6 separate regions of the Homo sapiens genome follow, and regions 1, 2, 4, 5 and 6 are each linked to region 3. The links are contacts of gene promoters, found by promoter capture Hi-C in blood cells and fetal thymus (Javierre and others, 2016). All regions are on one chromosome and are shown on one strand. Each heading gives the region's core, a stretch centred on a gene start or on the middle of the fragment in contact. The rest is flanking DNA. Distances are from core to core; before and after follow the strand shown. Region 1 has its middle 21 kb from the start of MIR6128. Region 2 holds the start of MIR6128 (microRNA 6128). Region 3 holds the start of OR5I1 (olfactory receptor family 5 subfamily I member 1). Region 4 has its middle 20 kb from the start of OR9G4. Region 5 holds the start of OR5AP2 (olfactory receptor family 5 subfamily AP member 2). Region 6 has its middle 8.7 kb from the start of OR5M1.

The links. The method cuts DNA at HindIII sites, captures the fragments that hold promoters and counts their contacts. A CHiCAGO score of 5 or more calls a contact.
Region 1: a contact is called between a fragment that was not itself captured here and the fragment with the promoter of OR5I1 in region 3, in 2 of 17 cell types (M2 macrophages and endothelial precursors). The highest score is 8.0, in M2 macrophages.
Region 2: a contact is called between a fragment that was not itself captured here and the fragment with the promoter of OR5I1 in region 3, in 1 of 17 cell types (erythroblasts). The highest score is 5.2, in erythroblasts.
Region 4: a contact is called between a fragment that was not itself captured here and the fragment with the promoter of OR5I1 in region 3, in 4 of 17 cell types (M1 macrophages, M0 macrophages, M2 macrophages and 1 more). The highest score is 8.5, in M1 macrophages.
Region 5: a contact is called between the fragment with the promoter of OR5AP2 here and the fragment with the promoter of OR5I1 in region 3, in 2 of 17 cell types (erythroblasts and megakaryocytes). The highest score is 5.9, in erythroblasts.
Region 6: a contact is called between a fragment that was not itself captured here and the fragment with the promoter of OR5I1 in region 3, in 1 of 17 cell types (endothelial precursors). The highest score is 5.7, in endothelial precursors.

What each region holds. Positions count from the first base shown.
Region 1 is chr11:56,720,168-56,724,782 of GRCh38, forward strand. No RefSeq gene overlaps it. Among named protein-coding and RNA genes, the nearest start is that of MIR6128, 21 kb to the right of the region's middle. The HindIII fragment of the contact is 389 bases long and covers 2,254-2,642 here.
Region 2 is chr11:56,741,234-56,745,722 of GRCh38, forward strand. It overlaps OR9G4 (olfactory receptor family 9 subfamily G member 4), which reads right to left. Exons shown (of 2, transcript NM_001005284.2): 2 at 1-2,555. The coding sequence starts at 2,533. The coding sequence ends at 1,595. It overlaps MIR6128 (microRNA 6128), which reads left to right and starts at 2,640; the gene lies at 2,640-2,748. The HindIII fragment of the contact is 816 bases long and covers 2,644-3,459 here.
Region 3 is chr11:55,934,311-55,939,087 of GRCh38, forward strand. OR5I1 (olfactory receptor family 5 subfamily I member 1) reads right to left here and starts at 2,090. Exons shown (of 1, transcript NM_006637.1): 1 at 1,146-2,090. The coding sequence starts at 2,090. The coding sequence ends at 1,146. The HindIII fragment of the contact is 3,136 bases long and covers 1-2,659 here.
Region 4 is chr11:56,765,938-56,770,802 of GRCh38, forward strand. No RefSeq gene overlaps it. Among named protein-coding and RNA genes, the nearest start is that of OR9G4, 20 kb to the left of the region's middle. The HindIII fragment of the contact is 440 bases long and covers 1,222-1,661 here.
Region 5 is chr11:56,640,522-56,644,974 of GRCh38, forward strand. It overlaps OR5AP2 (olfactory receptor family 5 subfamily AP member 2), which reads right to left and starts at 1,918. Exons shown (of 1, transcript NM_001002925.1): 1 at 968-1,918. The coding sequence starts at 1,918. The coding sequence ends at 968. The HindIII fragment of the contact is 8,469 bases long and covers 697-4,453 here.
Region 6 is chr11:56,621,191-56,625,899 of GRCh38, forward strand. No RefSeq gene overlaps it. Among named protein-coding and RNA genes, the nearest start is that of OR5M1, 8.7 kb to the left of the region's middle. RefSeq lists an enhancer at 3,507-4,186. The HindIII fragment of the contact is 723 bases long and covers 2,019-2,741 here.

The sequences.
Region 1 (4,615 bases), core at 1,198-3,697, 790 kb after region 3:
ATCCACCCACCTCAGCCTCTGAAAGCACTGGGATTACAGGCATAAACCACTATGCCCAGCCTACCAGATCAGATTTGATATCTCACTGTCTGGGCTATGATGATTTTTAAGTTTCATCAGGAACCCAGAAGTAATGTGGAATAATGGGACTGGGCATTGAGGAGAATGGTAACAGCATGTGATCTCCTCTTTCAGGTGCAGTCAGTAAAATGCATTCATCCAGGGAAAGTCCTTGTTCTCTCAGGTTCTGGGGGGAAAAAACCCATTTTTAAAAAGAGGCTCAAGAGAATTTGAGGTTCAGAATTCTCACACTTGTCTTTCTCGGCCTAAATGCTCTCAATCCTATGTCTCAGGACATCACACCTTTCTCATTAAATACTTGCCGACATTAAGCATTTATTTGGGCTACATCTTTGCAATGCCAGCAATCAGGACATAGCATTTTTTTTCTGGGGACACGGTGTTGCTCTGTCACTCAGGCTGGAGTGATGTGGTGCAATCATAGCTCACTGCAGCCTCACATCCTCAGGCTCACATGATCCTCTCAGCTCAGCATTCTGAGTGGCTGAGACTACAGGTGCACACCACATGCAGCTAATTTTTTATTTTTTATAGAGACGAAGGTCTCACTATGTTGCCCAGGCTAGTCTGGCCTCAAGTGATTCTCCTGCCTTGTCCTCCCAAAGCACTGGGATTACAGGCATGTGCCACCACGCCTGGCCCATAGCACTTGTTTTTCACTATATTTTCCCAAGGACTACAGAAGATAAGAATCATTTTGACTTCCTGTTTGTTTTTTCAGTTGGATGGTAACAGATTTTAATTTCAGCAAATCCAGCTCACCACATAAGATTTATAATCACTATATTCATGCCTTTGTCACAGTAAATTTATCTCTCAATACCTTGCCCTTGATCTGCCCTTCATACTTTGATGCCACTGGTGATCATTTATGTAAATTTGATGTCACAGGATTTCATACATTATTAATGTCTCATTTCTTCCATCACATATTTCTCCACCTAATCTTCAAATACGTAAACAACCCAATCCCTTGTGAATATTTATCTTCTTGGACTACTTCTAGGACCAGTGGTAGTCACAAATCTTGCAAGTAAAGATGGCCATTAAAATTGGTTCATTTGAGCAGGGTTTAATAAAGGGATTACTACAAAGAAACATTTGTGATGTAGGTAATTCCAAGGAAATTCTGGGAATAAGCCTATTTAATGGTTAATTTTAGGTATCAACTTGACTGGATTAAGGCATACCTAGAGAAATAATAAATCATCATTTTAAGGTATGTCTGTGAGGGTGTTTCCAGAGAAAATTGGCATGTGAAATGGAATGGATTAAATGAGGAAGATCTGCAATTAATGCAGGTTGACACCATCCAATCAACTGGGGGCCCAGAGAGAATAAAAACAGAGGACATGTGAATTGGTTTGTCTCTATTCTGGAGCTGGGATATACTCCTCCTCCTGTCCTTGGATATCAGAACTCCAGGCTGTTTAGCTTTTTAACTCCAGGATTTACACCACAAGCCTCTTGGGTTCTCAGCCCTTTGAACTTGGACTGAACCACACTACTGGAATTCTAGGGTCTCCGGTATATAGTCTGCCTTTTGTCGGACTTCTCAGCCTCCTTAATCACGTGAGCCAATTTTCCTAATAAACCCCCTCTTGTAAACCTCTATGTCTGTCTATCTATCTATCTATCTATCTATCTATCTATCTATCTATCTATCTCTCTATCTCCTATTGGTTCTGTCTCTCTGGAGAACGCTTACTAATACACCCTAGAACTAATAACTTCTGAGCACTGTTACCACCTCTATCCTTAATCATACAAGAAGAGAGAGAGGTTATGGGCACTGAAGAAAGAGTTTTGAAAAAGGGTCACCTGTTAGTAGCTATGGTCTAAGGCCATGGATACACCAGTTGTGCCATGTCTGTAGATAAGGAGCCTGGGGGAAACTCTCTGCCTTCACTGTCCTCCCTGCCATTGATAACCATTGGGTAAAGCTATTAAATAGTAAGCAAAGATCCCACTGATGCAAATTAATACAGGTGAACATCCTGGAGCAAAAAAAGGAGTTTAGAAGGATGGAGAATGGATTTGGAGGGAAAAATGAGATACATCCAACATACAACAGAAATATTAGTAAGGAAGTTCGTATGTGTTTTAATATGCAAATATAAACATATGAATATTAATAACACACATAATATATGTGTATACATATTATAGTTAAGCTTCTGCACAACTCAAGGGAGAATGAGAATAAAAATTATAACTAATTACATTTTTCACAAGGGAATCATAGTCTCCAAAATTTTTCCTCCTTTCTCAGTAATAATCCCCAATTCATCAATACAAAATTTAGTTTAATTGCCTTGTTAGCTATTCTCCAAATTGTGAAACCCTGAGGGGTTTCAGGAATCCGTAACCCTGGGAATTCATACTCTGACATAAAAGAATCTGGGAAAGGCAAACTTAAATTCTATTGAGATGATGGTGTTGCTGAGAATTTTAGGTAAGTTGCTTAATTCAAATGTTAAATGTAGATGGAAAATTTTTCTTCTTCCTCATAACCAGTCCAATAACCATTTACATAGTAATATATGATAAGTGCTAAAGAAAGCTTTTCTTTTTTTCTTGAGACAGAGTCTCACTCTGTTGCCCAGGCTGGAGTGCAGTGGAGGTGCCTTCATGGCTCACTGCAACCTCAATCTCCCAAGATCAAGCAATCTTCCCACCTCAGCTTCTGGAGGAGCATGGACTACAGGTACACCCTATCACATCTGGCTAATTTTTTTTTTTTATTTTTTGTAGAAACAAGATTTCACCTTGTCACCCAGTCTCGTTTTGAACTCCTACACTCAGCCTCCCAAAGTGCTGGGATTGCAGGTGTGAGCCACTGCCCCTGTTTTGAAATATATTCATCATCTTCCTGTTTTAATTTCTAAAACTGCTGGCAGCTCACACACAGAAGTAGAATTTCACACTATTAGATTCAAAAAAAAGAGCAATTAACAACACAGAAAATTGCAAGGGAAGAAAAAAAAACAAATGCACAAACAGGCAACGATTAGGAGCCACTAACAAAAGAGATAGTCTTGTTAATATCTCAAGAGCAAGAATGAGAAGAAAGAATTAAATAGAAGATATTATCAGTCTAACGGCCAAAAGACATCAAGAAAAGCTTAACATGTTGCTTTTAAAGTTTGATATTCTTTAAGAAAGTGTGAAGGCATATGGTAATTTTAAGGAAACCTCTAACAATAGAAGCATATCTCTAAATACAAAAAGTTGTATTTTAATAATTTTGGATGAAGAATGCACTTTTAGCTTTTAATATAAAAATATAATATTAGTTAGGAAGGATAGTATGTTAGCTGGTTAGTACTTCCTGCCAGCTATTATAGTCTTCTTGTTCTGATTAAGAAATACAGATGTTGGCTTGTCAAACCATCCTCTCTACCAGTGTACATAAGTAAGTATCCAGGGAAACACAAAGGAAATGTGTGTTTTACCATTTTTTTGTGTGTGTGTGTGTGTGTGTGTCCCAGGGTGTATTATGAGCATTGTTTTTTCCAGTGAGAAGAATTATATACTTTTCTTAACAGTCTCAGAGGTAGCTGAGCTCAATAAAACTCAATTATCTTTTCTGAGTAATGAACCTCAGAGCAAAATATGTGAACGAAGGGATGGAAGAGTCAAAGGGAAAGAGCATCACCCTGGGCTCCCTAAGAATAGTTAGACCTGTGAACTATTGAGCAAAGGCTACTGGTGATGGGATGGAGAAGAGAATGCTGATAGGAGAAGAAAGTACATCAAACTGTCAGTAGGTGATAATATATAAAAATTTAATACATTGAAATATTTTACATAAAAAAACAATCCATCCCAGCATTTTGGAAGGCTGAAGCAGGCAGATCACTTGAGGTCAGCAGTTTGAGACCAACCTGGCCATCATGGTTAAACCTTGTCTCTACTAAAAATACAAAAAAAGTAGCCGAGTGTGGTGGCACATGCCTGTAATCCCAGCTACTGGGGAGGCTGATGCAGGAGAGTCACTTGAGCCTGGGAGGCAGAGGTCTCAGTGAGCTGCCGAGATCGCACCACTGCACTCCAGACTGGGCAACAGAGCGAGACTCTGTCTCAAAAAAAAAAAAAAAAAAAAGCAATCCATTGCTTTACAACACTGTAACATCATTAGTTACGATAAACTAAGCACATTATTTTTCTACCATCATATGAGGAAATTATTATCCCATTTAATAGATAAGAAATAAAATTAAAGCAATTTAAATGAGTTTTCCAAGGTCCCTATTATAGAAATTGTTGCCATTAGGATTCAAATGTAGATCTGTTTATAGATCATCTTATAAAATTTGTAACTTTAAAATTAAAAAGAATAAAATTTATGACTTTAAAATTAAAAAGAATAAAATTTATAACTTTAAAATTAAAAAGAATAAAATTTATAACTTTATGCAGCAAATCTTTACATTTGTTAATTTCTTTTTTTTTTTTTTTGCCAGCACTGTTCTTTATTGTGCTAGTGTGCCACTGTCTTATTTATTTTTTTTTTAATTATACTTTAAGTTTT
Region 2 (4,489 bases), core at 1,802-4,301, 810 kb after region 3:
TTTCGTTTGTTTGTTATGATTTTGAGATCAGACTATAATATATACTACAGTATTGTAGATTCAATTGAATACTGATACAGTTTTTAAAATTCAGTATCTCCGATTAATGCAAAATGGAAAAGTAATTATTCTGATATCCTAAAGTGAAATTAAATTTTTACGATGTTCTTTCCCATAATATTGACCCAATTATTTTTCCTACATAGTGACTATTATGGAGATGAAAAGAAAACATAATATGGATCATTGATATTTGCGGGATACACCCCAAATCCTTCTAGTCAAGTACTCAAACAGCTTCCTTTGTGATAGAGGAATAAGAATGTTAAGATTATTTTGATGGAAAGAGGTAGGATGTGTTGGAAAATAAATGCAGCTGAAGAGAAAGTTGAGAAATGTCAAGTAAAGACAAATGAAATGGCTACAACTATTTGTCCTAAATTTTCAAAATTTAATTAATTTTTTAAATGTGCTAATTCCAGCAAATGTTATAACCTTTCCTCAACAAAGTTGCTAACCTCTGAGCTGCAAGCTTGTGATTTGAAAATTGTAACCATTAATCCTTAACTTGCCATCTTCTAAAGGCTACTAAATGAAATATCAACCCAACCTGCCATCACAAGGGGGTTCAGTTATGGAGTTTATATCAGGGTTTAGGGAATTGGGCTCGAGGCCAAGGCTAGTTTCCATGTGGTTAGCAACATGTTTGATTTTTCAGGGTTTCAGGCATCGATCTAAACAAGTTTACCAGTTCTTAGGAATGTTCAAGGCCCAGGCTAGGTTCAGGCCAGGGACAAACATGCAGCTTATGTCTTTTGGTCAGGACAAAGGAAAGAGAAAGGTAACTAGGGAACAGTGGTTACTATTGTTGTTCATTTGTTTTATTTCGTTTGATGTTGTCACATCGCTGTGTGACCTGAGAGAGAGTACTGCGGAGTACTCACTCCTTGTAAGAGAGAAGACTGTTAGGATGATATGCAATTCTAAAGACACATATTTATTCATTAATTTTGAGATAGTTTTTTGTTGTCATTGTTGTTTGTAATCTGAACAACTCTTAAACATCTTCCTAATATTCTCTTTATGTAGAAGGCATGAGTTTTACAAAGATACTCCCTATATGCTCAATTAGAGCTTTCTGAAGAAATTTTGAGGAAATGATTTTCTTAAAATAAATATTTGTAAAATCTTGAGCATATTTCCAGAAGCCTCACCCTTTCAGATATTCTTGTCACCTAGTAAAGATTGCTTACCAAACTTCAAAGTCAAACTATATTCATTAACCCACGTAATTTATTTTGTTCCCCAAGATCTCCCAAAGGGAGCAAACACAATGAAATCTATGAAAGATTTAATGCTGCCAAGGCAAAATACCATATTGCAGAATGCCAAACAACCCAATATTATAAGTTTTAAATATTACTTTGTTTTGTTTACATCATAACAAACGAATAACAAGGAGTCATGTGGTCAATATTTTAATGTTTTAAATATGACTTATTGAACTTAATTGAACTACAGAAATGCAAATGAACACATTTATAAGCCAATAATCTGGAAAATTCAATAACAGCATTTGCAAAGAGAATAACCTTCATGTTTGTGGTTGTATAGTCTGTGTTGCTTTCCTGAAGGCCTCTTTGATATCTTTGTTTCTCAGGCTATAGATGAGAGGGTTGAGCAGTGGGTTGATCACGGTGTAGAACAGAGCAGCTACTTTGTCCCTCTCTAGGGAGTAGGTGGAACTAGGCCTTGAATACATAAACAACAATGATCCATAGAAGAGCATGACTGAGATGAGGTGGGAAGCACAGGTGGAGAATGCCTTGTGTCTTCCTGAAGCTGAGTGGATTCTCAGGATAGCCAGGAGGATGTTGACATAGGAAATCAGGATAGCAAGAATGCTGGAGAGTACTGTGAAGCCCACCACACCAAGCAGGACTTTTTCGTAGACCCTGGTGTTTGTACAGGACATTTTTACCAATGGTGGTGCATCACAGAAAAAGTGGTCAATGATATTTTTACCACAAAAATGCAGGCGGAATGTATTGGCAGTATGGGCTATGGCATTCAAAAATCCTCCTATGTAGGAGCCAGCAACAAGCCCAGTACAGAGGGCGGTGGACATGGTACCTGAATAAAGCAATGGGTTACAAATTGCTGCATGGCGGTCATATGCCATGGCTGCCAGGAGATAGCATTCAGTGTAGGCTACAACACAGGAAAAAAACAGCTGAGCCCCACATCCAGCCAAGGAAATGCGCTTATCTTCTGAGACACAACTGGCCAGGATTTTGGGGGTATACACAGAGGTATACCAGAAATCCAAAAAAGACAGATTGCCAATGAAAAAGTACATAGGTGTATGCAAGTGGGAATCAGTTCGGATTAAGATAACCAAGGTCATGTTTCCTGACAAGGTTATCAAATAGAGCATCAGAAACACTCCAAATAGAATCGGCTGCCACTGGGAATCTGCTGAGAAACCCAACAAGATGAATTCAGTCAGGATGGTGCAATTTCCCACTTCCATGTCCACGGAGGTGAAAGCCTGACTATCATGAGAAGGGAAAATCATCACTTAGTGTTTTTTCTATTCACACAAGTTGACAAGGGTATCAATTAAATCAACAATTACTAAGAAGCTTGTAGATTTTTCTCCCTTACTATCTAGAATTATAGGACTTCAGTCCATGATTTGGAAAAATTACTGGAATTGGAGTCAAAAATAATTTGAAAATTAGGAATTTTATTTATTAACTATTTAATGCAGGACAAGACCCATATTCTCATCAAACATGAAAAAAAAATGAAACTCACAAGGATAACTAATTACTTCTTCTTTTTTTTTTGAGATGGAATCTCACTCTGTCACCCATGCTGGAATACAGTGGCGTGATCTCCATTCACTGCAACTTCTGCCTCCTAGGTTCAAGCAATTCTCCTGCCTCAGCCTCCTGAGTAGCTGGGATTACGGGCACCTACCACCACACCAACTCTACTAAAAATGGTGTTTTACCATGTTGGCCATGCTCGTCTCAAACTCCTGACCTTAGGTGATCCACCCGCCTCAGCCTCCCAAAGTGCTGGGATTACAGGCGTGAGCCATCGCACCTGGCCGACTAGTAACTTCTTGACAGACTGTCTGATTGAATAAATAAAACATACATAAAAATAACACAGCCCAATATTGGGTACATTAGTGGGCACTCAAAAAATTTCACTATCTTTCTATAAGTTATTGAAAACTTCTTACGTGTCAAGTATTTGTATTGTTAAGTATTAGATTATTAAAGTTGCTATTTATATTACAAATATAAATACATTATGACCATGTACCAGTTACTATTCTAAGTCTTATACCTAACCCCTTGAGTCTTGGATGGCTTGGTGGTTTGCTTTGGCCAATAGATTGAAAGATAGGCAGCTCCATGTGGATTCAAAGCCTGGATTTCAAGAAGCTTTTTATGTTTCTCTTCTCACTTTTAAAATCCTACCACCACCATGTAAATAAGCCTGGGTTAGTTTGCTGGATAAGACATCTGGCTGCGCTCACTCTGTCACCCCAGCTGACTGCAAGTTGTCCCCCAAACATGCAGGTGGGGCCCTTCTATATGATCCAGCCTACAGTGGCGCTAAGAGCTACCCACAGACATGAGCACGCCCAGGTGAGAAAAGACAGGTCTGGCATAGGCAGAATTGCCCAAGTGATATGGCATCTGAGTTCAAACCCAGACCTTCTTACTTGGTAGTTCCATAATCTTGGAAAAGTATCTTAACAATTCCCCACCTACGTGTATTTACCTCCAAAAGGGCGAGAAAACATCCATGTTAAGAAAACAGCCCATTTTCTGGACAGAACATCAATCTACAAAATTTTAACTATCATTATTCTGAATGGGAGGATAATTATCTAACTTAATTATAAATTCTGAGCTTGCAAAACATAAATAAATAGACTAAGTTTATACAAATAAGCAATTTCAGCCAGAATAGTGGTATCGTCCAGTATCTTGCTAAAATCCTAGAATTTAATATTTTTGTCAACTATTTCCATGTAACTTGGCAAAGGAGTTATAGGGTTTAGGATTGTGGGGTCCAATATTTGGTACATATCCCTGACACTAATCACTGTATGATTTAGGAAAGTAATACCTCATCTCAGGAACACAATTCACCCATCTGAAAATTTTGGTTGATCCTATTCTCAGCACCAAACTTCCATGATTCCAATTTGCTAAAATCTCTTATAGAAATTGTTACGTGCCAGGTGCGGTGGCTCACACCTGTAATCCCAGCACTTTAGGAGGCTGAGGCAGGAGGATCACTCAAGGCCAGGAGTTCAGAACCAGCCTGACCAACATAGCAAAATCCTGTCTCTACTAAAAATCAGCCAGGCGTGGTGGTACACGGCTGTAATCCCAGCTACTTGGGAGGCTGAGGCAGGAGAATCGCTTGAACCCAGGAGGCAGAGGTTGCAGTGAGCTGA
Region 3 (4,777 bases), core at 840-3,339:
TACATGCTTGCATAACTGTAAACTTTCATATTTCCATTTCATAGCTTGTAAACAGTTATCATACATAATAATGATTTGCAGCACACAATATTAGTTACAGAAATACATTTTGTAATAATACACATACTTCTACACATCCTTCAATTAGAATTTTCAAACACACATTTCATGCATGGTTTTCTACCACAGTACTGGATTGATCTCCCTATGAGGATACAATTACGATAGTGTAATAAATTAGAGATAGTATTCTTTTTCTGAGATTCCAGCAAAGAACGTTCCTCACATTCAGTAACACATTGGTGTATTTAAAAACAAGAGATAGTAAAACAAATATTTTGCATTGCAATTAACCTATATTGCTCAAGCCACTAAGAAAATGTTTCCAAATTGCTTTATGATACATTGGATGTAGAAAGTTATCAACATGTTATCACCTGCATTTTAAAAAATATTATTTGGCTTTTTATGATTGCTTTTCTAACATTCTAGCCTCTATCATCTTATTTTATTACATGCATTTTAATTAGTGTGAGATATTATAAAAACATATCTTATAACAAACATGTAAGTGTATATAATGTCCAGGCACTATTCTCAGCTCTTAACTGTATTAACTCTGTTCACCATCAAACAATCAATAGCATATGTGCAATATTCATCCCATTTTACAGATAAATGAGGCATAGAAAAATTAAGCAACTCATTCAATATGCCACTCACTAGCCAAGTATAGATCTGGCATATAAATCAAAGCAATCTGACTTATTTTCTTATCCAGTTATCCAGTAATCTACACTTATAACTGAGATATTCTACAGATAGATACGCACATGTACATGCATGCATACTTTTCTGAAATATTTACTATATCCCTTAAGATGGCTTGATGAAATTGATTTTAGCATAAATCTCAAGCTAGTAATAACTGAAAAGTAGTATAACTAGCATTTAGCAGGAACTTTGAAACTTTTAAATGATTTTAAAAATATTTTAGGACTATGAAATTCATTTGGCTGCATTAAACAAAGTGCTTGATAAAATCCCTAGTGTGAGAGGTTGTGTGTGTGTACAGGTAAGGTTGTTGTAAGTTCCCAATTACAGTATGTGATTGAGAAATTAGATGTATCTTGAGATGCTTTATCTCATGAAGAATCTACCTTTGATCTTAGAACTTTCTCAGCTGCATCCTTTACATCTTTATTTCTCAAACTATAAATCAACGGATTCAGCACTGGAATGAAAATGGTGTAGAACACTGAGATAATTTTATCAGTGTTTGGAGAATACAGGTAGCTGGGCCGTGAGTAAATAAAGAGGAGAGTCCCTTGGTAGATCGTCACTGAAGTCAGGTGAGAGGCGCATGTAGAAAAGGTCTTCTTCCTCCCACTGAAAGAGCGGATCTTTAAGACTGAGAGAAGAATGAAAAAGTAGGAGATGATGATGATGATAAAACAAATGATTTCCACTGAGCTGCCGTATGTGGAGAGGAGCCACTCATTAATTGTTGTGTCAGTGCAGGATAGTTTAAGCAGGGGAGGGAGGTCACAGAAAAAATGATTAATAACATTTTTGTCACAATATTTCAGAATAAAGGCAAAGGATGTGTGAACCAGGGAACTCATGTTGCCTCCAAGGTATGACAAGACAATCAACCGCATACAGATGCCCCTAGACATCACAACTGTGTACAATAAAGGGTTACAGATGGCGACATAGCGATCATAGGCCATGGCGGCCAGGATGAAGGATTCTGTATCTGCAAAAGTACAGAAAAAATAAAACTGCAGGGCACACCCATAATAGGAAATAGATTTGTTCTCCGAGAGGAAATTGACCAGCATTTTGGGAACAATGTCTGAGAAATAGCAAAGGTCTACAAATGATAGGTTGCTAAGGAAAAAATACATGGGGGTTTGAAGGTGAGGATCAATCCTGATCAACAGCATCAATCCAATGTTCCCTATCAGAATTATAGCATACAATGTCAGAAACATGAGGAACAGGACAATCTGCAGTTCAGGGCGAGTTGGAAAACCTAATAGAATAAACTCAGTGACCAACGTGTAGTTTCTATCTGTAAATTCCATCTTCTGTGTTGTTTTCCTTTTATGAGAATTTCTAATACCCTACAATGCTATAATGATGAAAAAAGAAAAATAATTAGATGTAATTATAAAGTTATTTTATTGTTTAAAAATAAATAAATGGCAATAAGATAAAGAAAGCAAGCTCAAACTTTTTTGAACTATAAACTCTGAGAAATATATTTCAGAATTTAGTAATATCATATTTCATGGTTGCAGGTTATATTTTATTTGATTACTATTTCTTCCATTGAACAGTTGACTTCCTATGTGCATGGATCATGTCTGATTTGGCTTACCATTTTGCACCCAAAATATTAAACAATTACTGGCCCAGAGTATTAAAAAAGTAATAAATTAATGAACAGACTGATGATCACATTAAGTAAAGAAAATATGTATATTATTAAAAATGGACTGACTTATAGAGTGTTCCTTTGAATAAGAATTTTAGAACATCTGCTTCTTGTTTTCAGGATTTGATAGATACCGGTATGCTGTGTCTCTTGACTGAGTAAATAGAGTGGTGTGATGAAATATGCCGGCTAATTTTTTTTTTACTGTAAAGCAGAAGCTTTAGCGAAATAAAAACAAATGTCAGTAAATACCAGCTCTGAGGATATTTTTGACAGAAAAGAGCTTAGTGTAATTCCATAAACCCTGTTCACATACTAAACTAAGCTGATAAAATTAGTTAACTACTTGTTTCAATACTTCTGGCATTTATCGAACTCCTTGGCTTCCTGGAAATGCTCATTAAACATTAGTGGACTGACCAAGTACAGTCAGCAAAACATTTAGTTATATGTTAACTTGCAATTAAATAACATTACTATATATGGCATCATCACTGATTAAATTTTATAAGTAAAGAACAATTGTTGCATTTATTGTTATGGTAGTATAATACAAAGTGTTGAGTCAGAAAAATCTGTTAAACACTGCTTCTGAGGTCTCAAAATACTTACAGAATTATAAAAATTTTTAACTTGACTTTGAAGTACAAATAATTTGATTTTGACCATGAAGGATAGACTTGGAAATACGTAAAAAACAAAACAACAACAAAAAAAAGCAAGCAAAGCATCAATCTCTAAAGTTCATGTTGAGAGGGCCAAGATGGGAATTAAAAATATTTGAGTCACTGCCTCATTTACATAATAGATATTATGACAATGACAGTGCTAAAGACAATTTATTTATCTCATGTAAGCAATAAAACTACCCAATGACATAAACACTGAGAAGCCTATTGATAATCAGAAGGGTTAATCACGTGCTCAAAGTGCTGCCTTATGTTATCACCTCAAAGCGTGTGAATGAGATGCAGCACTACAGCAGGACAGTGGTTATTCTCATTTTGCTTGTTTGAAAATAGTCAAGGTATTTAGACAATATAAGACATCACTTCGATTTAGGAGGAATTTGATTAGATGCCCATCTTGGCTGCATGGGGGCTGTGTGACCTTGTGCCACTTAATATAAATTATCCTAATCTATACTACAACAATGATAATAAATATCTCATAGTGTTTCTGTATGGATTAAATAGGGAAAATGTTCTGCCCCCCCTTTCTGTCCCTTTATCTACCTACTTATCTTTCCATGTGTCATTCTTTAGGGAGACTGACATACAGTAGATAACATCAAAAATTAGTTTTGATTGCCACGCTGCCATTTTATTCTTAGATTATGACTAGAGCTACCTGTCAAATTTTACTAACAATAATTGTCACCTGTATAATGCTTACTATGTGTAATGCAATATTCTTAACACTTCACCTATAACTCATTTAATTGTCACCAAAAAACTAACAAAATTACCATGGAGTTACTATCATTATGATCTTTTTCTTACAGATGAAGGAAACTAAGAAAGAGAGAATTTGAGATTTAGGATGTGATGGAAACAGGATTAGAACCCAAAATTCTGACTCCAAAGCCACATGATACACTGGTTCTCTATAAACAGGATTCTTTTTATTAGCTCCATATTTTGGATGAGAACATTAATGCTTAGGATAGTATCTCAAGGTCATTCAACATGTAGTTGACCAGTGCAATTCAAACTCAGGGGTGTATGAAATCAAAGCCCATGAAAGCAAGCATGAGGACGGGGAGAATATTAACAGTATGACCATTCTATGGTTCGCATACTTCCCAAAAATGTGGGGCATGTATTCTTGGCAACTTCACATTGGTCATTCCTTCTGATAGTCAAAAAATTCTATTTAGAGAAATATTAAAAGGAAGAGAAGAGGCATGAGGATAGTGGTAGGAAAAGACAGTGATTCTTGGATTCTTCTTTTTAAAAGGGAATTAACAAATAAATCTTACTAACATACTATGATTCAATAAGTTCTTTCCAAACATAACAAAACAATCTTATGTTATAAAATAAGTTAATTCAAGTTATAAGGTAGGTAGATATGCTTTGGTTCTCCTATCAGTAACAAAAGGCTTATTTAAACAAAAGACATTTTAGACCCTGTGGAAGCTATATCAGAAAGGGTGATAAAAGATAGATTACCTTGTCAGTACAATATTGAATGATAAATGTACTTTCAAAACTATTTGTACTCAAATCAGTGGTTCTTGCTCTCAGACCAACAAAAGTTGATTTTTTTTTTTTTTGCACGATTAAAGCCAGTCCAATAACCGCAGAAGCTACTTACTGAGGAAGGAACTGT
Region 4 (4,865 bases), core at 192-2,691, 830 kb after region 3:
TTAGACACATTAAATACATATAAACTAAAGATCATACATATTTATTGTGTACAACTTGATATTTTTATATGCCTATACATTGTGAAATAACACAGTCAAGATAAGTGAAGAACAGCTTTAAATATCATTTCTTTAAGTTGAGTTTCAGCTCCCTTAAAAATTTGAATTCCATAAAACTTAATTTTCAAATTGTGATTAAAAATTATTCATCCAGAATTGTTCATAGTCATTTCAATCATAAAACCTAAGGTAAAAACTGTTGTACTTATGGAAGAAAACTCAAATTTCTCCTTCAAAAATTGGAGAAAATTTGTTTCTAATTTGTATATGAATTAAAATCATCTGATCGGGTGCAGTGGCTCATGCCCGTAATCCCAGCACTTTGGGAGGCCAAGGTGGGCAGATCACCTGGGGTCAGGAGCTCGAGACCAGTCTGGCCAACATGCTGAAACCCTGCCTATACTAAAAATAAAAAAATTACAGGTGGCAGGCGCCTGTAATCCCAGCTATTCGGGAGGCTGAGGCAGCAGAATCACTTGAACCCAGGAGGTGGAGGTTGCAGTGAGCCAAGATTGTGCCATTGCACTCCAGCCTGGGCCACAAGAGCGAAACTCTGTCTTAAAAAAATAATAATAAAATAAAATAAATAAAAAATAGATAAATAAAATCATCTTCCTAATCATTTTATATTTTATATTTTTTGTTACATTATATGTTAAAATTAATGAAATGTCTGAACTAGCTCCATTTAGACACCCTAGTTCTCTCCTAATTCCTCCAGTGTTATGTTCATATATTAAAAATGCTCTTCATTATTTTACCATAACATGAAATATGTTAAGCACCAATAATAATAGCAAACCACTAGTGCTCATTATGTACCAAAGCACTGTGCTAGACCTTTTACAAAAATTAACTGCTTAACTACTATTATTATCACCTTCTCTCTACATAGGAGGTTATGGAAGCTCAGAGAGGTTAAGTAATCTGCCCATCTCCACACAGCTATCAAGTAGCACAGTCAAGATTTGATATATGTGGCTCTAAGGCACATGCTCTTATCCAATACTTAGTATACTGTCTCTCTAAAGCTACATAGAAATAGAATTTCTCAAGCTGCAGTTTGAGTTCTATTACCGGGAAATGAAATCATCTTAGTAGGTTATGACTAGCATTATTTAAAGGAATGCGATACAATAAATACATAAAACATGGTTGTCAAGCTTTTCTATAAAGGCCCATATAGAAAGCATTTTAGGCTTTGCTGGCATACTGTTTATGTGACAACTACTCAGCTCTATTTGTTTCATCCATCCAAACCTGAGGCTAGAGTAACCCCAAAAGTGACTGCAGGGGAGGTCTCAAAAAGGAGTGCCCAAAACCCTCCCAAGATGGGGCCAATTGGGATTCCAAAGATAGAAACACTAAACACCAGGGTGATCCATCCAAAGCATTTATTAGAGAAATTTACAAAGTGCTGCAGCAATCCTCATGACAGATGGCAAGAGAAAGGGAGGTTCTGCTGGGCATATGCCCAATGAATGTGTTGGGTTATGGAATTTATAGGACAGTTTAAAGAATTCATCTCAGGACCAGGGCTAGTTTCTTTTCGTATCTGAGACAACAACCTAAACAAGTGTATCAGTGCCTGGAAATGTCCAAGCTTGAGTTCAAGTATGCAGGGAAAAACATGGAGCTGGTAAGGTCACAAGAGCAATCAAGATACTCCATATTTTTTGGTCAAGACAAAGAAAAAATGGGAAAAATAGAGGAACCCCACACTGCCCTTGTAGTCCCAAAGCATCCAAGGACTATTCATAAATCAGTAGTTGTGGTTTATATATTATTACCTTACATGTGGATACATTTTTGGTTATCACACCTGGAATGAGGGGTGTTAAAGGCATCTAATGCAGAGGGCAGAATGTGGTTAAATGTCTTACAATGCAAAGGATATCCCCACAATTAAGAGTTATCCAGGCCAAAATGTCAGTAGAACTGTTGTTGAGAGATTCTAATATAAAGATGGTTGTGTTCCAGCAAAACTTTTTTTATGGATGCTAAAATCTAAATTACAAATAATTTTCATGAGTCATAAAATATTCTCCTTTTGACTGTTTCCAATCATTTAAGAATGTAAAAACCATTCCTGACTTGCAAGTTGTACAAACACAGGTGTCAAGCTGGATTTGATACACAAATCATAGTCTGCTGATTTCTGAAGCAGAATATTTAAAGTGTATTGAAGGAGTAAAACTAAGTATATTTTGTGGAACTCTTCTTCCAGTTGTATATTTGTATGACTCTACTGGGTCTTTCTATATTTCCTTCTGTGGGACATGTTTGAAAGATAGCGATTGGGAGAAATGATTCTTTTGTAAGAAAGAATTTAGATAGCAATATCCCTCTAAATTGTGGCCAATTCATTGTGTTCTCCTTGAATTAGATTCTTATTTAAAAATTATGGTTTGAAACTCTACAGGAAGCACCTTTAAATGAAGACAAGACTGTACAGTTTGGCTGAACTCAACCAAGACTTGACTGTGGAGACCCACACGTAATGTTGTTCAAGACTAAATCACTAAACCTTTGGCAAAATAATCTATGAATTGACTCCTTTGTTCTGATGAGACTTGTCTTTCTGAAGCCCATGGAGCAATCTACCTGTAGGCTCAGGGTAAGCCATGTCATAGCTCCAAAATGTTCCCAGAATTACATGTTTTTCTCTTATTATACCCAGTCTTTAATAAAGACTCATTAGAAGTTGCAGACTGGCCTCAACTATGCTGTGGGTGGCTCTGGATAAGATAGGCTGGTTTGCAGGTTTGGGAAGAAATGGCAGAGGGAAGACTAGCCACAGCAGGGAAGCAGAAGAAACTTGCAGCAATTAGTCCTGGAGCCTGTCAGTGGAGCAGAAGCAGCCAGAGGCAATCAAGGAGGCAGGAGAGCACCAGCACTCATTGTTTCCCCTGGAATACCCTGAACTCCATGGAGAAGAGACACTGGTACAGTTGCATTTCTTGCAGCCCAGAAGAATGAGAACTGGAGTCTATTATAATTTGACATTAAAGGAAAAAGCATGTCATTTTAAGCTATAAGCTAAAATATCCAGGGGATGCTTGGGTTATGCACAGACTCAGCAACAAACACGTCCCTGAATAAGAGGTGCCACCCCATCTTACTCCCCATTTGGAGTTCTTTCCATTGGACAAGTTATTTGTAATGAAATTACTGAGTCCAACTACAGAAGCATTTTAAAGCCTCTTGATAGATATTTACAAATTTATTTTGCCATTTACAAGAACAAAGTGCATTTTACTTACCAAGCTGTGAGATATTTTCCAATGTTTGGTTTAAGCATTTTCTCTGGACATTTTAGTCAGAACTGTTCTCATATATCTATGAGCCCTTTGCAAAAATAGTAAGAAAACTTCCAGGTATGTATTTTCTACAAATATTTTCCCACATTTTAAATTGATTTTTAATTTTTTGACCATGGAAGTTTTATGATATATGGTCAAACCTATCTAGCATGTTTTTTCTACACCCCTTTTAAGCCTAGAAAATACACCAGTACCCCCATATGTTTTGCTAGTATTATGCTTATCTTTACCATTGGTTATCTGAGTCATTTTTCAGAGCAAATATTGACTAAATTCTTTCTTCCTCATGCCCTTCTCATTCCTTTTCTTTAAGAAACAAAAATTTTAAAGATCTATTTTTAAGTGGTAAAGCTTCTCTCTATCACTTCTCAAAACTCAATTTATTTTACCTTAAGTGACAGGAAAGATTTACATTCCTATCGTGTTCTTTCTTTCCCTACATAACATTGTTTTTCAAACTGTAATCCTGGGACAGAACTTCTGCCTATAACTCAGACAAAAGGTTCCATTGTCAAATAACACTGGTTCCATCAATATAAACAGATTTATTTAATGCCATAGTTCTGGAAACACTTTCTATGCTAAAGTTCTTTTTGAGTCACCAAGGGGAGGGAAGGTGGAACATACAAGACACAGTCTTCTCCAAAATACTTTATTATGAATTTGTTTTCTATGTCTACCAGTAACTCACACAGTTGGAGAAGGGCTATCTGAGGCAGGCTACTTTGGGAAAATCCTCCAGTATTTGTGTTATCTTTCTCTCCCTCCATCCCAGGCACTCAGGGGCCAAAGAACAAGGAAGGTTGAGATATAGCAAAAAGGACCTAATCCCAAACTAAGGCACTGACTACAGTGGAGTCCCACTTACTCATTAGTATATTTCCCACAGCTCGCTGGTTTCAAGTATTGGTAGACACAGGCAACATAACAGTTAAGTAAAGAGTGACCACCTCATTTAGCTGACTGCATTCCATCTAAAGTCCATTTGGAGCATGTAAAAATGTCACAAGAAACCATCCATGACAAACATGAACCAAAAAAGAAAACACAATATATAAAAATGTAGAGTCTAGGATGGCAATGTGTGAGTCCAGCATGAGACAATGATTTTAGCGATATAGACCCATGTATTAAGTGCTTATTACATCCCAAAGGATATGTAACATGCTTAATGACCTATCACCTTGTTAAATTTTCACAGTCTCATCCCAGGTGTGTTTCCATTGTGGCATGTTGTTCTTCGCTTCAAAAGAATCTTTCATCAAGCACCTTACTCTTAAACACTTTCCCATAATACCAGAAAAAAATCAACTTCTTATAAACAACATTCTAGGATAAATATTATCCTCAATTTACATACAAGAAGAGATTTAAATTAAAACTCATACAGATAATTCACTAGGTATCTGTATTCTTATCTTCATCTTCTGATCCAAGATACAATGGAGAAAGGAGTTTTCATGTCCTACACCTCATTTACTT
Region 5 (4,453 bases), core at 668-3,167, 710 kb after region 3:
GCCCAGGCTGGAGTGCAGTGGCGGGATCTCGGCTCACTGCAAGCTCCGCCTCCCGGGTTCACGCCATTCTCCTGCCTCAGCCTCCCAAGTAGCTGGGACTACAGGCGCCCGCCACTACGCCCGGCTAATTTTTTGTATTTTTAGTAGAGACGGGGTTTCACCGTTTTAGCCGGGATGGTCTCGATCTCCTGACCTCGTGATCCGCCCGCCTCGGCCTCCCAAAGTGCTGGGATTACAGGCGTGAGCCACCGCGCCCGGCCCACACTACCCAGATTTGCCTCTCAGGTTGAAGTATTCATTTCCCCAGCTTCCAGGCATATAGGCCACTGACAGCTGATAGCTGACCTACACTCCAGGAATTTCCCCTGCTGAAGGGAATTGCCTTGTCCAAGATAATATTACCCCCTCTCAGTGGGTGATCATGTCCAAAAATTGGCTATTGTGGAGGTACAAATACTTGTTCCTTTTTTCTTAATTTGGGACATCTCTGAAGGACATCTCTGCAGAACGCCATGTAACAGTGGCTCAGTCTTCGTCACAATTCAACTCCTTCTGTCCAATCCTGCTCCCCTCACTATATATTGTTTGTGAGAACACTCTGATAAACTTTCTGCCTAAAAATATCTCTCTGTCTCAGTTTGTTTGCCCAGAACCCAAAGACACCAATGTTTGTATAATAAAACTCAGACTGAGATAAGCTTAATATTTAAATTAAAACTTAAGTCCAGATTAGCCAATTCCAAGTGTTTTGATACTTTTTCCAGTCCCAACCTTCATCTAGTGTATTGGTGCATCAAAGGGACCCGTGTGTGTGTGTGTATATATATATGAGATACTAGGATATTAAAAAGTATACTTCATTTTAAATTATCTACTTTAACACAGAGAAACAGCTTAAACAATCAGAGAATACAGTTAACATGAAAATGTATTTTCTTCTACGTAACAAATGATGGGTAACATGGCTCTACAAGATGTGTTTCCATAAGATCTTCTTTAGGGCCTTTTTTACATCCTTATTTTTTAAACTATAGATGAGGGGATTTAGCACAGGGATTATTACTGTATAAAAGACAGAGACAACCTTGTCTTGCTCCATTGAGTAGCTAGATGTAGGGCGCAAGTACATGAAGAGGATTGTTCCAAAGAATATGGTGACAGCCATGAGGTAAGAGGCACAGGTGGAGAAGGCTTTGTGCCTGCCCTCTAACGAAGGCATCTTCAAGACGGCAATGAAGATACACAGGTAGGAAATGAGGACAATCATAACACAGCTGATGACAATAAAACTTGAGAATGCCATGATCACAATGCCATTGAAGTGGGTATCAGAGCAAGAGAGTTTGAGCAGTGGCGGGGTGTCACAGTAGAAATGGTTGATCCTATTAGAACCACAAAAGGACAACCTAAAAGTCATCCCTGTATGTATGGCTGCATTTCCACAACCTGCTAAGAAGGAGGTAGCTATTAGCAAAAAGCAAATTCTCCCAGACACGAGAACTGGGTAGAGCAGGGGGTTCCAAATGGCTGCATAGCGGTCATATGCCATCATGGCCAACAGGAAGCACTCAGTCCCCAGGAAGGAGCCAAAGAAGTAGAACTGGGCAGCACATCCATGAAAAGAAATGGCCTTATTCTCAGCCATGAGGTTCACCAGCATCTTGGGAGTGACGGAAGAAGAGTAAGAGGCATCTACAAAAGAGAGGCTACTGAGAAAGAAATACATGGGGGTGTGGAGACAGAGATCAATCTTAATCAATACAATCATCCCCAAATTGCCCACCATGTTTGCCATATAGATCAACAGAAACAATGCAAAGAGGACTCCTTGTAGATCTGGATTGTCGGAAAGTCCTAAGAGGAGAAATTCTGTTACTTCTGTTTGATTTCTGCCTCGAACCTCTTTCATAAGTCTCATCATTTGAGCTGCAATAAGAAAGAAGATGCACAGTGGAATTTAGTCAGATGAATACATGATGGAGCTATAATATATTTTTAGTGAAACAACTTCTAACAGAAGAGCAAAAAGTGAAAAGCATAATAAAAGGTATGTTGGATTTGATGCCAAATCAAAAGACTTGTAGTACTAGATGTGCTGTCTACTAATGACTGAAGCAAGTGATTTAGTGTGTATTAACTATGGTCATTCCTACAGTTAACTCTTTATTGAATAATTAAAATAACTTATTCTTAAGATGTGACTGTCATAATTACTTGTGATAAATAAATTAATTTATATATACTGACATACCCTCCAGACACAACTTCTGGAGAAGGATGATAGAATGAATTCAGGACACTTACAATTCCTCCTCAGTACTAATAGAATGAATAAAAATATTGAAAGTTAATAAAATTAATCTATAGTGCCAGACAAGAAAAATAGTTGGGCTGGGCCTGGTGGCTTACAACTGTAATCCCAGTACTTTGAGAGACCAAGGCAAGGCAGATCACTTGAGCTCAAGAGTTAAAGACCAGCCTGGGCAATGTGGCAAAATCTCCTCTCTGCAATATTTAAAAAAAAAAAAAAAAAAAGCTATGTGTGGTGGCTCATCCCTGTGGTCTCAGCTACTCAGGAGGCTGAGGTGGGAGGATTGCTTGACCCCAGGAGTTTGAGGCTGCACTGAGCTGGGTTTGCACCACTGCACCACTCCAGCCTGTGCAGTAGAGTGAGACGGTGCCAAAAAAAAAAAAAAAAGAGAAAGAAAGAAAGAAGGAAACAAAGAAAGAAAGAAAGAAGGAAGGAAGGAGAGAGAGAAGGAAGGAAGGAAGGAAGGAAGGAAGGAAGGAAGGAAGGAAGGAAGGAAGGAAAAAAGAAAGAAAGGAAAGAAAGAAAGAGAGAAGGAAAGAAAGAGAAAAGAAAGAAAGAAAGAAAAACAGCAGAATCTCTTGGGGTAGAGGAAGAGCTTAAAAATGCCTGGCCAAAGAAGAAAATAGAGAATATTCCCACACAGCCAGTACAGTTCGAACCCCACTCTGATTTTCCATAATAAACATCTACAGAGAACAGAATAGGGTCAGTTAAATAGTAATTTTCCACAATTCATTCCAATATTTAGAGAATCAGATTGTAAGAATGAGTAGGCATCCCCGATAAAAATGGCAGAAGTAGCCAAGCCAGTGAAAATCTCTAATACTCACATTCACAAGTTCTCAAGAGAACCAGAAAACATCAGAAGTAGCACATGCAATTTTTCAGCCACCATACTTAATCAAGGGAATAATTTAATACCAAGTAATCAAAATGGAAATAAGAGTCACCCTTTGCAAGGTGTAATGAAGACAAACATAGGATAAGAAAAGTAAAAGAAATAAAAAAGAAAATTCAGAATAGATGCCCAAACTAGATCTTCCAAATCAAAATGTAAACACCACCAGCGGAATTCTCCTCCAATTTAACGCAAATCCTCCACCCCTTCCATGATCTCAGATTATTAAACAAAAGTTTAAACTTACTAGGCTAACTGTCAAAATATAGCTCAGAAGGTAAGACAGAGTTATATCCTTTGCTACTCACAGAAAAAAGTTATTTGATACTGTTTAAATTAAAACATGGGGTCGGCCGGGCACGGTGGCTCACACCTGTAATCCCAGCACTTTGGGAGGCCGAGGCGGGCGGATCACGAGGTCAGGAAATCGAAACCATCCTGGCTAACACGGTGAAACCCTGTCTCTACTAAAAATACAAAAAATTAGCCAGGCGTGGTGGCAGGCGCCTGTAGTCCCAGCTACTCAGGAGGCTGAGGCAGGAGAATGGCGTGAATCCAGGAGGCGGAGCTTGCAGTGAGCCGAGATTGCGCCACTGCACTCCAGCCTGGGTGACAGAGCAAGACTCTGTCTCAAAAAAAAAAAAAAGAAAAAACACACACACAAACGGGGTCAAAGTGACCCAGTACCCTTGCCAGCATTGAAGATAAAGAAGTTTCTGAAAACAGTGAGGGAAACAGTGGGCAGCAACTGGTCCTATTATCACAGACAGTGCCATACACAGAAGCAGCTATTTATGCTGGGCTCCACCTAATTGTCATTGAGATAGGGACTCAATGCCCTAATCAATAATTAAAGCTGACATTTTGAAAGAATTCCATAACAATTTTGAAAAGTGTCATTGCACCCATTATCTTATATAAGCCTTACCACAAATCAGTGAAAGAAATTATCAGGTAATATCCCAAGAGTATAAGTAATATAGTCTTTTGTTAGATGAGGCCAGCAAAGTGTGGGGGTTTCTCAGCCAATCAGTGGTGAATCCTGAGCTAGAATGTAGGCCTCTTGATGCTAAATTATGTGACAATGCCTCTGTCTGTATTTCACTGGCATAGGCGCACAGCCTAGGTCCTCTTTCTTGAAGCAATCTTGCTGTCTGAACTTCAAAGAACAGCATCTTTAGAAGAAATGAAAAAAAAAAGGAATAGATCTTTCTTCTCTCCTTCTCAAACAGAAAGTCTCTCTG
Region 6 (4,709 bases), core at 1,130-3,629, 690 kb after region 3:
TAAAATTGTGCAGCCACTATAAAAAACAGTATGATGAGTCTTCAAATAATTAAAAATCGAATTATCATATAAACCAGCAATTGCACTTCTGGGCATATATCCAAAAGAATTTAAATCAAGCTCTTGAAGAGACATAGGTACTCTTATGTTCATTGCACCATTATTTACAATAGTCCAGATATAGAAACAACCTAAATGTCCATTGAAAGATGAAGAAAATGTAGTACACACATGTAATGGAATATTATTCATCATTAAGAAAAAGAAGAAATCCTGTCATATGATGAACCTGGAGGACATTATGTTAAGTGAAATAAGCCAGGCACGGAAGGACAAATACTGCATGATTAAATTTATATGAGGAATCCAAAATAGTCAAACTCATAGAAACAGAGAATAGAAGGTGGTTGCAGCGGCTGGAGGAAAGGGAGAAATGGGGTGTTGCTGTTCAGCAGGTATAAAGTTATAGTTTTGCAAGAATAAATTCTAGAGATATGCTGTATATCATTGTGCCCATAGGTAACAATAGGTATATTGTTAACAGTTAAAAATATTGTGCACTTAAAAAAAAAAAAGAAGATCATGCTTACATTGTGATTACTGTGATAAGGTAGATGACTAAGAACACCACAAAAAGAAGGGGCTGAAGCTCAGCTCGATTTAAAGAAAAGGAAATTAAAATGCATTTAGGTTTGTCATTTATGCATTAACCCAGTGGTGTCACCTGATATTTCTTCCTCTTCTCTCAAATTTGTAAATACATGTGTCATTAAGAAATAGCCTAGTAAGCATGAGATTGATGTTTTAACATCAAAAATAATGTAGAATTTCTTACATACGAAGGCAGTTATATTTAAAATGGTTTTCTGTGGTTCTTTTCTGCAAGTCTTTTGATAGTTAAAGAGCCTTATCTTTTATTATTTTGCAAGTCTTTATTATATGTGTTCACTTAGACTTCTCTTGAACCCATGGTTGTAAACATTGCTTTTATTTGAAATTGTAATTCTTTGTTTAACAACACAACTTTGAGTGTGGCATGTAATGTATCAGCCCTTGAAACTCATCTATTTTTATCACAACTGAATGTGCTTAGGAAAGTGGAACTGCTCCATGGTACGTATCTGTATAGAACTAGGATCTCTTTGCCTACCTATCTGACTCTGGAGCCCAGGCTGTTGCGTCCCAGTCTGTTGTTGAATCCTCCATAGTCTGGTGAATGTAGATGTATTTTCCCTTTTCCCCGTTCCATTGCAATCTACTTATTATATCAATCTGCTTATTATATCATTTGCTTATTATTATATCATTTGCTTACTATATCTGCATGGCCACTTACATGGGATAAACGTTGTTTACCCTTAAACGTATCATGTCCGTGTCTTTTCTCTCCCCTCGCACTTTCCCCACACAGAACATTTTTGGCGGCACGAACAGGATCCAAAAGCAAAAGCAAAACATGCCATTTTTCGGCCACAAGGACCAGGCTGGAAGCTCGGGGACTTCCCATATCCCGGGATGGGAATGCCCCCAGTTTTCCTCTTTGGCGATTGAATGGTCCAGAGTAACTGGCCTTTGTGAGAATTGGGAATCTAAATTAGTGCATTTTAAACCATTGGCTGTGTGTGAACTTTCAAAGTTCTTTAATGAGTACAATTTATCACCTTAAGTGACGAAACATAATGTTTTCACCAAACACTAAAACATAATTTCTTCCAACATGTTTCATCAAGGTTTGAGAATAGCTTGGCTTTATGACTTAAGTGTTACAAAATGTAAAAAATAACATTGCATTAGAGCTTTCACACATTTCAATAAACCAGGTAGAACGGTGTTTTTCAGAATCACAAAGTAAAGAGTATATGCAGGATTTTATAACTGTAGCAGGAATTTTGTTCACCCTGAAAAGTGTTTCTGTTTGTTCTTCACATGCTAATGGAAACTGGTATGTAAATAATTTGAATGTTTCTCTCTCTTTTCCAAAAAAGACTTATAGTGAACAAAACTTTAATTGTTGCAAAAGCTTGTGTCTATATGTCAGGACCCAATTACATGTTACATGAACTTGTGATCTATGGCTTTCTTTTACAAAGCAGCTTTGGACTTAAAATGGTCAATGATTGAAATAACTCTTTTGGTTTGTCTTTCTCTTTAGGTAAATATCCAGTCATTAAAATTTTAATCCCTTTTTCCGTTCTGTAACTTGCGAGGCCTCTATTGGTAAGGAAGGGAGGCCTAGAAATGCATCCAGTTGCTGCTCTCCGGTCTTTCTTGACCTCTAATCTGCCTGGTGACAGTTTTGCTTTGCTGTCATCCACCATGATAAATGTACCTCAGAGTCATTTCACTCTCTTGGCTGAATATAGCCATAGCCTTCTTATCTTCCCTGATGACCCAGTTGCACCTTGGTTTTAAAGACTTACAGACCTCCCTTAGGTCTGCCCCTTATATCCATTCGGAAATGGCCTGGGAAGTCAGCTGTGTAGGACTCAGCTTCACTGGTGCAATACGTCCAGGTCATCAAATCTTAGCTATTTGCATGTTCACCTACTAGGGACATGCTGGAAGTTTGGAAGTTTAAGTACTGTCTATGCCACATGGAAACTGAAGAAACTGTGGAAATAGCTGTGATCATAGCTGCCCAAATAAGCTAATCCCAAAGTTGACTTTGCTTTAGCTACTCAACAAGTTGATTCAGGGCCAAAGCCTGGGCAAGGGAGATTGGGATAGCTTGTCTCAGAGAAAGCTTCTAAGTTTTTTTGTTGTTGTTGTTCCTCTCCATTCATTAGTGTGTCCAGGCCGAAGAACCAGGACTTGGGTTTGGATTTTCTCTCTGTCATAATCTACATTTTTTAACGTCAAAAATTAACGGTACTAGAGCGCAGGAGAGGAAGATTGTTTTAGCCCTAATGAAAGATATAATACTATTATATTATTTTATTTTTATTTATAATAGTATTATTATGAATCTGACCCAGAAGTAGTAGGACTTTGATTTCAAATGTTAATCTACTTCAGACCCAAAGATTAAACATTATATGAATTAACATATCTCTGCAATCATAAATTATACATATCTTTGTATAAGTAGCCCATGGCAGTAAGTGTACTTGAACTAATTTTGTTTAAACTAATTACCACTGTTCAGTTATTTACTCAATAACCCTTCACCAAATATTAACTGTACACCCAAAGTGTTGTGCAGATTTCCATAGGAATTATCAAGATGAAATTGATGTTAGCTTTATCCTCAGAGCATTTACAATTCATAGGAGTAATAGAATAGTTATAAAAGAAAGCATATATTGCAAGAGTGGCAGAAAAAACCAACAAAGGTTTTCAGAAAAGCAAAAGACTATTTTAGCTGAGGATATAATGTGCAGAGTCACGGCAAAAGTCTTTTGATTACCAAGAATGGAACACCTTTCTATCTGCTCTAGAATTAATCCCAACATCAAAATCTGTACCAAGTGTTTTTGCATTTACTGAAAGATACTATGTACATCTAAATTAGGATTCTATCCATTATGATGTGACTTTTGTAAACGCCTCCAGAGGGAGCCCTAATGATATCCTGTGGGTTTCTTATCTAATGCTTCAGGAATGAGTCTACCGAGATTAGTCATTCAGTATAAATCCTCCCACACTGGGGACTTTTGAGTAGGATAAGAAATTACTATTCCTTCACAAGTAAGTCTGACAGTTCTGAGAATCAAGAACTCATAAGAAATTTGTGTGATTTCCTATTTCCTCTTTTGAACATAAAATGAAATTAGTAGTGGCCATAAGAATTGTCATGGTAAAACAAAACCATAGACAGACAGGCCTCAGACTCTCTGATGAAGACAACAGGTAACTAGTGATATACGAGGAGGTCAGGCAGGCTCTGCAAATAGCCCTCTCATTAGTTACAGATCCATTATTCATGACACAGCTGAGACTTAGAGTAGGCTTACAAGTTGAGTTTTAGTCAAATCTTGGAATTCAAAAACATACATTTTTCCACTAACTTGTTTACCTTCTCCAGAACTAGAGCCTTAGAATTTGGCACAAGAAAATATACTCTTCTATGTCTTTAATTACTTAATACAATTATTACTAAGAGGAGAGTGTCAAGAGAATTGGATAAAAATGAGGGTAAGGTTAACGGTGAGAAGGAAAAAAAAAAGTGAACACATTTCCATCGTCATTTCTAGGAGCTTTTCTTAGGTTTCTTCAATTCGGTTTTGCATTGGAATATGATGGCAATGCTGTGTCTGAGCTCACGCTTGTAATCCCAGCATTTGGTGAGACCGAGGTGGGTGGATCACCTGAGGTCAGGAGTTCGAGACCAGCCGGGCCAACATAGCGAAACCTTATCTCTACCAAAAGTAACAAAAAAAATTAGCTGGGCGTGGTGGTGGGCACCTTTAATCCCAGCTATTCGGGGGCTGAGGCAGGAGAATCACTTGAACCAGGGAGGCAGGGGTTGCAGTGACCCGAGATGGTGCCGCTGCATTCCAGCCTGGGCAACAAGAGAGAAACTTCATCTCAAAAAAAATAAATACATAAAAGAAAAAGAAAAATAGGTTTGCATTATTTTGTTCCAAGAGAATACATTTTTCTGTCCTTTGCCAACACTGCTATGGATTTATGGAGCTTTCACCTGATGTGTCCCACTTGGCAGAATTTTTCAGAAAATACTCTGCATGGCTTGAAGTTGTGTTTTTTCC